3 separate regions of the Homo sapiens genome follow, and regions 1 and 2 are each linked to region 3. The links are contacts of gene promoters, found by promoter capture Hi-C in blood cells and fetal thymus (Javierre and others, 2016). All regions are on one chromosome and are shown on one strand. The core of a region is centred on a gene start or on the middle of the fragment in contact, and the rest is flanking DNA. Distances in the headings are between cores, read along the strand shown. Region 1 overlaps THOC2 (THO complex subunit 2). Region 2 overlaps THOC2 (THO complex subunit 2). Region 3 holds the start of THOC2 (THO complex subunit 2).

Region 1 (2,700 bases), core at 66-2,565, 67 kb before region 3:
TACTCATCTGACAAAGGGCTAATATCCAGAATCTACAAAGAACTCAAACAAATTTAGAAGAAAAAACAAACAACCCCATCAACAAGTGGGCGAAGGATATGAACAGACACTTCTCAAAAGAAGACATTTATGCAGCCAACAGACACATGAAAAAATGCTCAACACTGGCCATCAGAGAAACGCAAATCAAAACCACAATGAGATACCATCTCACACCAGTTAGAATGGCGATCATTAAAAAGTCAGAAAACAACAGGTGCTGGAGAGGAGGTGGAGAAATAGGAACACTTTCACACTGTTGGTGGGACTGTAAACTATTTGAGTTGGGTAGTGGACATATGGGTGCTTAGTTTAGGGAAAGTCACTGAGCTGTATTTTTCCGTATGTATGTTTTATTTCAATAAAAATCTTAGTAAAAGAATAAATAAATAAAAGAATGGGTCCTTAACAGTCTGAGGCTGAAAAGACTTCTTACACATAGCAGCAATGATTGAAAACTACACTCAAGAAAATGACTAGAAGGAAAAGAATGCTAAGTAACCACTAATCATAAGGGAATTAAAAAAGCAGCCACTTGTCTGAAGTATATTTTCCCATGTGAGGGACTTGACTAATAATCTCGCTAGATTTGGGTTTATATTAATATATACAGTTATGCACCATTTAACAATGTTTCGGTTGATGGACCACATATATGACCAGGGTCATATAACATTATATTAGAGCTAAAAAATTCCTATTGCCTAGTGATATCATGGCTGTCCTAACATCTTAGTGCAAGGTATTACCTTTTAAATGTTTAGATATGTTCAGATACACAAATATTTAACAGTGTATTACAACTCCCCACAGTATTCAGTACGGGAACATTCTGTACAGGTTTGTAGCCTAGGAGTAACGGGCCATACCATATAGTCTAGGTATGTAGTAGGTCATACCATCTAGGCTTGTATAAGTACACTCTCTGATGTTTGCACAATGACGAATCACCTAATGATGCATTTCTCACCTGTCATTAAGCAACACTTGACTGCATATGGTTAGGACACACTGGAATTTTCCACAAACCTCACTCAACATAACCCTTTATTAAATGAGGTTCATATTTTTATTTCTAAAGATACTCATAACACAAGTATACTCAGAATATTTTCATTTCAAAATTTAGGTTTGTAAGAAAAATCTTACTTACCTCCTTCATAAATGACTTGCCTATGCGCACCACTTTTGCAAATAAAATGGGATCGTGAGAAAGGTGAGGACCAAGGTAACAGAACATATTGAACACGTCTCTCCTCAAATCTTCAAAGCTCTCAGCTTGTTTTGGTGCTCTCTTGTTTTGCAAAGCATTAACAGGTGAGCCTTTAGCACCTTTAGGAACTCCAACTCTATTTTAAAAAGTAAAATAAATAAATAAACAAATAAATAAGTATATAATAAATATAACTATATACACACACACTACAATATCTACCATTTTAACAAAGTTATCTTAATCAGTGAAATTTTTTCTTGCTCATATTTGCTTTCTACATTTCAATTGTGCCTAACTTTATTACACCAGATAATTCTCAACTGGTAGAAACACATAAAAACAACAGTCATTAGAAAAAAAAAATCAGAGCTCAGAGGAGAATGTTCCAAATTAACTGCTTAATCAGAGAAGTGTGGATTTCAAGGAACATTTAACACACACCATCTGAATCTGTTTTTAAACTTGGCCGGTATCGGGAACTTGGATATGGGAATGGGCAACAAGGGATGGACCTAAGATGCACTGGAAGATGAAACAGAAAAATATGGATATAACAACACTGATTCAAGTCAACTGACATTTCTCAATCTGGATTCCACAACCTAGGGTATGTAGAATGTGGTCGTAGGGAAAGTGAGCCATGTAATAAAAGAAGGTCACTTTAGGACACCATACCCAGAGTTCTCACCTGCTCAGCAGGTGCCCCACTGTGGAGTCACAGGGGTCACTCTCTAAGAAGCCTGCATGGTCCACGGCCCATGAAGTGACACTGACGGCAGCAACCAGCAGCTACACAAAAGTCACAAGGCTGAGGCTTTTGAGGCAGGCTCTGATCTATGGGGCTGTAGCCACAGCTGCTATCAATACTGCTCCTAAGTATCCTGCAAGTAGGCAGAAAGCTAAAGGACTAGATGACATAGTAACTGGGGATGATAAGAGAGGCTAAACTACTAATTTCCAGAACAGCAGCCTATATGCCAGGAAAGGTAAGGGAATCAGAGAGGCAATGTCCTCACTCAGAGCCACTCAGCCAGGATGGAGAAAAATTACACTAAGAAAAAACCTCAGGAATTCTTTGCCCCTCCCACCCACTGAAAGGAGGGAAAGTCAAAACCAGAAGAATGGAGTTTCAACTCTCAATGGAACAAACCCAACCTAGAAGTCTAACTTGTAGTTTTCAGACTACACTGCAGCACACATTCTAGAACCCCTGGTCTAGACGTTAGAAGACAAGTCACTGATTAATATATATCAGACTGATACACTCTGTGAATAGTTCTTATCTTTTGATAAAAGGTACTAAAATATATGCTTGGTTTGAGGAGATAAGATAAATATACATTTTGTTGTAGTCCTAAGCTATTTCTACCTCAATGATTAATAAAGTATAAAGTTACATACCTTCGGTAGAGAGGCTCAATAGTTATATGAATGAGCTTGCAAAT
Region 2 (2,724 bases), core at 193-2,692, 110 kb before region 3:
AGAAACCTTCCGTATCGACTGGCTTCATTTTCAGTACAGCTTGCAACTGTGTAAATTATGTCAGAGAAAACCTACAGGAGAAAAATGTTTAAAAAATATAAACAAATCAAGGTCAAAATCAGTTAAAAATATTAGAAGATTCTCTTACAGCAAGTCATAATAAACAGGTAAGCCTAGTCAAAATGTATATTCCCTTTATATAATGACACTGCAGAGAACTTTGGAGATTTTGGCTTTTGTGGGGAAATAATGCATTCATAAAACAACCACCCAAAACAAGAACTTTTATAAAGAAAGCTGATTTACAGTGACAAGGAAAAAAAAATTTATCATTATTATTACATAATAAGTTGTTTTTTTTTTATTACATAATAGTTTCTTAACCACTTAGCCATACATATTACTGGGTTTACGGGGAGAGTAAGCAGAGGAAATGCTGATAGAAATTAAAAATATGCAGCTGACATACTGGAACATACATTATGTTTTTTGTTTTGTTTTGTTTTGTTTTGAGACTGAGTCTTACTCTGTCACCCAGGCTGGAGGGCCGTGGTGTGATCTAGGCTCACTGCAAGCTCCGCGTCTCAGGTTCACACCATTCTCCTGCCTCAGCCTCCTGAGTAGCTGGGACTACAGGCACCCACCACCACACCCGGCTAATTTTTTTGTATTTTTTTTTTTAGTAGAGACGGGGTTTCACCATGTTAGCCAGGATGGTCTCGATCTCCTGACCTTGTGATCCACCCGCCTCGGCCTCCCGAAGTACTGGGATTACAGGCATGAGCCACCGCACCCGGCCACATTATGTTTTTAAACCACAAAATGTAGTAATAAGAAAAAAGCTAAATGCAAAATGTGCATATGACCATACTGAAAAGCTTCCCTGCTTTTATATGTGTGTGAAGGTGTAAACTTTTTTGTCTTTTTTTTTTTTTTTGAGAAGTGAAGGTTAAGAATGGAGAAGAGAGTTCTACCTATTATGATACAACACGTAAACTCAAATACTTAGTTAATAGTTTAACCTTGAGTGCCTATTACATATCAGGTACTTTTTATGTGTAGTGATTCATTTAATCCTCACAACAATCTTATGAAGCAGGTACTTATGCTTTACAGATAAGAAAACAGGCACAGAGAGGTTAAATAACTTGCCAAAGATCATACAGCTAGAAAGTAGTAGAGCTAGGATTCAAGTTCAGACACTTGGTTCTTGAGTTCATGCTTTTTAACTAAACACACAATAATACCTCTATAAATTATAATGTTAGCTATCTTTGTGTGAGAACTTTTTAAAGGTTGCAATAAAAACTTACTCGATCATAGCAAAGAAGTGTGGAAAAATTTGGAGTTTTCTGTTGATGTACCAATTCAACAAAACGAGCACAGTAAACAGCATCAATTGCTGAAAAAATACATCGAGGAAATATACACAGCTGTAGAAATTTTGTGATGGTCTCATTTTTGGTAGATTCTAAAAATAAAGGAAGAATATATTAAGTGGTAAACTTCTTCCCCAAGTGCCTCAAAGCCACTAAACATGACAACATATTACCTTTAGTGAAGAGAATACTATAAACCACAAACTATTTATAGTTTGTAACCAAATGTCATGCCTGGTCATGATTATCATTTTTACTATGTGGACCTTTTTTTCTATGATTTCTCCAGAAATATGTTTTATACAGAAAAGCTGAATGACAAGCTGCCAATATGTAGTTAAAAGTTAATTAACTTCACCAGCAAACTATATCAGTTCCTCCAGTGAACATGAAGTTGATTCTGCATTAACAAATAACCAAAGAATGGGATAGGGAACACTGAGTTGAAATACAAACATAATACACTTTAACACCTCTAAAGTTATAATGTTTTGTTTTCTGTAATTTACCAGCATCAGGAACCTAACAATTCCAACAACTTACTTGCTAAAAGCCAGTTGTCCTTTTCCAGTTTCAATCTCTGTAGAACTCTCTGTACATGTTCCATCTGTTTCTTTTCTTCTTCAAGAAGCTTGTCCTGAAGGGCAGTACAGCGCTCCTTCTCTTTTTTCTTTTTATTTGGGGGCTACAAAGAATTCAATTAGACACTTTTCTAACTATATGCACATTACCTTTCTTCTTTTAATTGAAAAGTTTAAAGAGATAAAGGCTGATAGTTTATAACTACTTTAACATGAATATAGGTCCACTTGAACGTGCTACTTTTATCTCCATTCAACACACTCATAACACTGTCATGGCATCTTCATACACCATCAGAACAGGCTACATTTGCAACACTGACACTATTAGTCTCAGGCATGGTGTCATCTTTGACTCTTCCCTCTCCTTTATATCAAGACTGGTTTACAAGCCTTGTACACTGCCACTACCTCCATCAGTCTATGCTCTCACAATAGACTGCCCAAAAAGCCACCTAGCTGGTCTTTAGCCTAATGCTAGTCAAAAAGCATCTTTCATACTGCTGTCATGAGTAATCTTTTTTAAGTACCATTTTTTACATTACTATCCTGCTCAGGAATCTAAAATAGCTCTCAATTTTACCAAGTCTACTTTTCTCCCTGACTTCCAATGCCTACATAATCTGGCCCCATCATAACTATTCATATGAATCACTAAGTACATTCACTACATGAAAGTGAATCAGTAAAAGTGGTCTCCCTAAACCTCAATCTACTTCCTGTCTTTGCTGGAACCCTATGGTGACCTCCCTATCTGCTTCCAT
Region 3 (2,700 bases), core at 58-2,557:
CGGGGGGTGCGGGGGAGGAAGCCACATAGGCTGGCACTATTACAAGCGCGGGATCCGGCAACGCGTTCCTCGTGTTTCGTTCCAAGTAACGAAGTTACAAAGATTTGAATCTTTAGCATGAGCCACGGTAAACTGGCTACTAGAAATGGAGAGGGGTGGGCAAGGACGACAAAAATGGCTAACGAGGGTTAATTTCATCCAGGGTTGAGCTTTAGCATCTAAAAGCGACCCAGAGAAGGAAATGAGATGTTATTAATATTTGTTCTTATATCTGAGGTTTGCTTTGCTGCTTAAACGACTCCTTCCAGGGGAAGGGGAGGAGGGAGCGCTCTAACGTGGGGGCGAGAAGACTAGGGGTATGGCAAATTACTGTTTTCGGTGTTACGGGGGAAAGTTTCACGACTAAAGGAAACGCGTTATCCTAGGTACTGGAGAAGCTTGGAGAGCTGCCAGAATTAGTTGCAGTCCCAGGATAAAATGGGGTTTAGGGAACATTTAATGACGAAAGTTGAATCCAACCCGAAATAGCTCTAAGGTGAAAAGACGGAGCAAAGAAATGTCGGTGGTTCTTCAGGGAAAGCGGCAATCCCTGCCACACTTCCCCACGGCGCTACGCGAGGCCGGGACAGTCGAGAGACCGCTCCCCGGGAGGGCGAGAGGTGCCAAACCGGGTTCTTCGCGGCGCCCCGGGCTTCGCGGCAGCGGGCGAAGAGGAGGGGAGGGGAATCCGGGACGGTTCGCCCTCCTTGGACTTCAGGCAGAGGAGGCGCCAAGCTCCAAACTGCGGAGTCCAACGGGTGCAGAGTGAAGAAATGGCACAGAGAGAGATGGAAAGTCCGAATTGCCCCGGCTCAGCCCCATAAAGATAAAGGAGCCAAGTGAGATCAAGCGAAGAGGGGGACACAAAAAGAGACCAAGAGGGAGCGCGGAGACCTGCAGGGGCGGAATAAGAGTTCTACTAAGAGGCTAAAGGAAGCCGAGCTACCGCAGGCAGTAGCGATTTCTGGGAGGCCAGGGAAGGAAGGAGGTCCGCGGCGGTAAACAGCACCTCTCCCCGAGTTCGAAACTCCTAGACGACCATCCACGCCCGCCGCCCGGGTGGGGGAGGGGGTACATCTTTCCCCCTCAACCTCCCACTACAGGTGAGAGTGCAGCTGACGCCCTGGCCCGGCCCGGCAGTGCGCCTGCCTCCGGCCCGAACACTCACAATTCGCCTCTCCCTGATTTCTCCCAGTTCTTTATCCACTCTGCGGGAACCACCACAGCCGCGGCCGCCATCTTCCTCTCACTAGTAGCAGAAGCCCGGATGTGTAGCACGCGAGCGAAGGGTCAAAGGGGAGCACCGCCCACGAGGAATGCCGGGAGCTGAGAGTTCGTTTTTCGATTTCCCGCCCCACTTTCCTCTCCACCCAGCGGAAACCCGAGGCAAGGCAGCCAACGACGTGGAGACTCGCGGGCCCCTTTGCGAGGTTACTACACGGGTTGCGCCCTCCGAAGTCTTCGGCCTTACTTCCCATTAGAACAGAGAAATGCCATCCACAGGCCAACAAGTAGACTTCATCTTCTTCCGTAATATCTACCCCTAACCACTAATACAAACACGCATTTTTCAAGCACCTAATATGTGCTAGACACTGGGAATAGAGAAATAATAGTCTTTGGGAAAGCCATAAATATAAGCAAATAAATTACATTACGCCCTGCTGACTGCTGAGATAAAAGAAAATAATCGGGTCCCTCTCCTTCTCCCTCTCCCTCTCCCGTCTCCCTCTCCCGTCTCCCTCTCCCCACGGTCTCCCTCTCCCTCTCTTTCCACAGTCTCCCTCTGATGCCGAGCCAAAGCTGGACTGTACTGCCATCTCGGCTCACTGCAACCTCCCTGCCTGATTCTCCTGCCTCAGCCTGCCGAGTGCCTGCGATTGCAGGTGCGCGCCGCCACGCCTGACTGTTTTTCGTATTTTTTTGGTGGAGACGGGGTTTCGCTGTGTTGGCCGGGCTGGTCTCCAGCTCCTAACCGCGAGTGATCCGCCAGCCTCGGCCTCCCGAGGTGCCGGGATTGCAGACGGAGTCTCGTTCACTCAGTGCTCAATGGTGCCCAGGCTGGGGTGCAGTGGCGTGATCTCGGCTCGCTGCAACCTCCACCTCCCAGCCGCCTGCCTTGGCCTCCCAAAGTGCCGAGATTGCAGCCTTTGCCCGGCCGCCACCCCGTCTGGGAAGTGAGGAGCCTCTCTGCCTGGCCGCCCATCGTCTGGGATGTGAGGAGCCCCTCTGCCTGGCTGCCCAGTCTGGAAAGTGAGGAGCGTCTCTGCCCGGCCGCCATCCTGTCTAGGAAGTGAGGAGCGTCTCTGCCCGGCTGCCCATCGTCTGGGATGAAGTGAGGAGCGTCTCTGCCTGGCCGCCCATCGTCTGAGATGTGGGGAGTGCCTCTGCCCCGCCGCCCCGTCTGGGATGTGAGGAGCGCCTCTGCCCGGCCGCGACCCCGTCTGGGAGGTGAAGAGCGTCTCTGCCCGGCCGCCCCGTCTGAGAAGTGAGGAGACCCTCCGCCCGGCAGCCGCCCCGTCTGAGAGGTGAAGAGCGTCTCCGCCCGGCCGGCCGCCCCGTCCGGGAGGGAGGTGGGGGGGTCGGCCCCCCGCCCGGCCGGCCGCCCCGTCCGGGAGGTGACGGGCGCCTCTGCCCGGCCGCCGCTACTGGGAAGTGAGG

The links. Contacts are between HindIII fragments. The CHiCAGO score rates a contact against its expected background, and 5 or more counts as called.
Region 1: a contact is called between a fragment that was not itself captured here and the fragment with the promoter of THOC2 in region 3, in 1 of 17 cell types (M2 macrophages). The highest score is 6.3, in M2 macrophages.
Region 2: a fragment that was not itself captured here is called in contact with the fragment with the promoter of THOC2 in region 3 in 1 of 17 cell types (M1 macrophages); the score reaches 5.5 in M1 macrophages.

The regions. Positions count from the first base shown.
Region 1 is chrX:123,664,450-123,667,149 of GRCh38, forward strand. It overlaps THOC2 (THO complex subunit 2), which reads right to left. Exons shown (of 39, transcript NM_001081550.2): 11 at 2,657-2,700; 12 at 1,193-1,388. Among named protein-coding and RNA genes, the nearest start is that of THOC2, 67 kb to the right of the region's middle. The HindIII fragment of the contact is 4,946 bases long and covers 1-2,700 here.
Region 2 is chrX:123,624,599-123,627,322 of GRCh38, forward strand. THOC2 (THO complex subunit 2) reads right to left here. Exons shown (of 39, transcript NM_001081550.2): 24 at 1,923-2,064; 25 at 1,314-1,471; 26 at 1-71. Among named protein-coding and RNA genes, the nearest start is that of THOC2, 110 kb to the right of the region's middle. The HindIII fragment of the contact is 1,132 bases long and covers 877-2,008 here.
Region 3 is chrX:123,731,745-123,734,444 of GRCh38, forward strand. THOC2 (THO complex subunit 2) reads right to left here and starts at 1,308. Exons shown (of 39, transcript NM_001081550.2): 1 at 1,208-1,308. The coding sequence starts at 1,278. RefSeq lists an enhancer at 1,244-1,323. The HindIII fragment of the contact is 10,140 bases long and covers 436-2,700 here.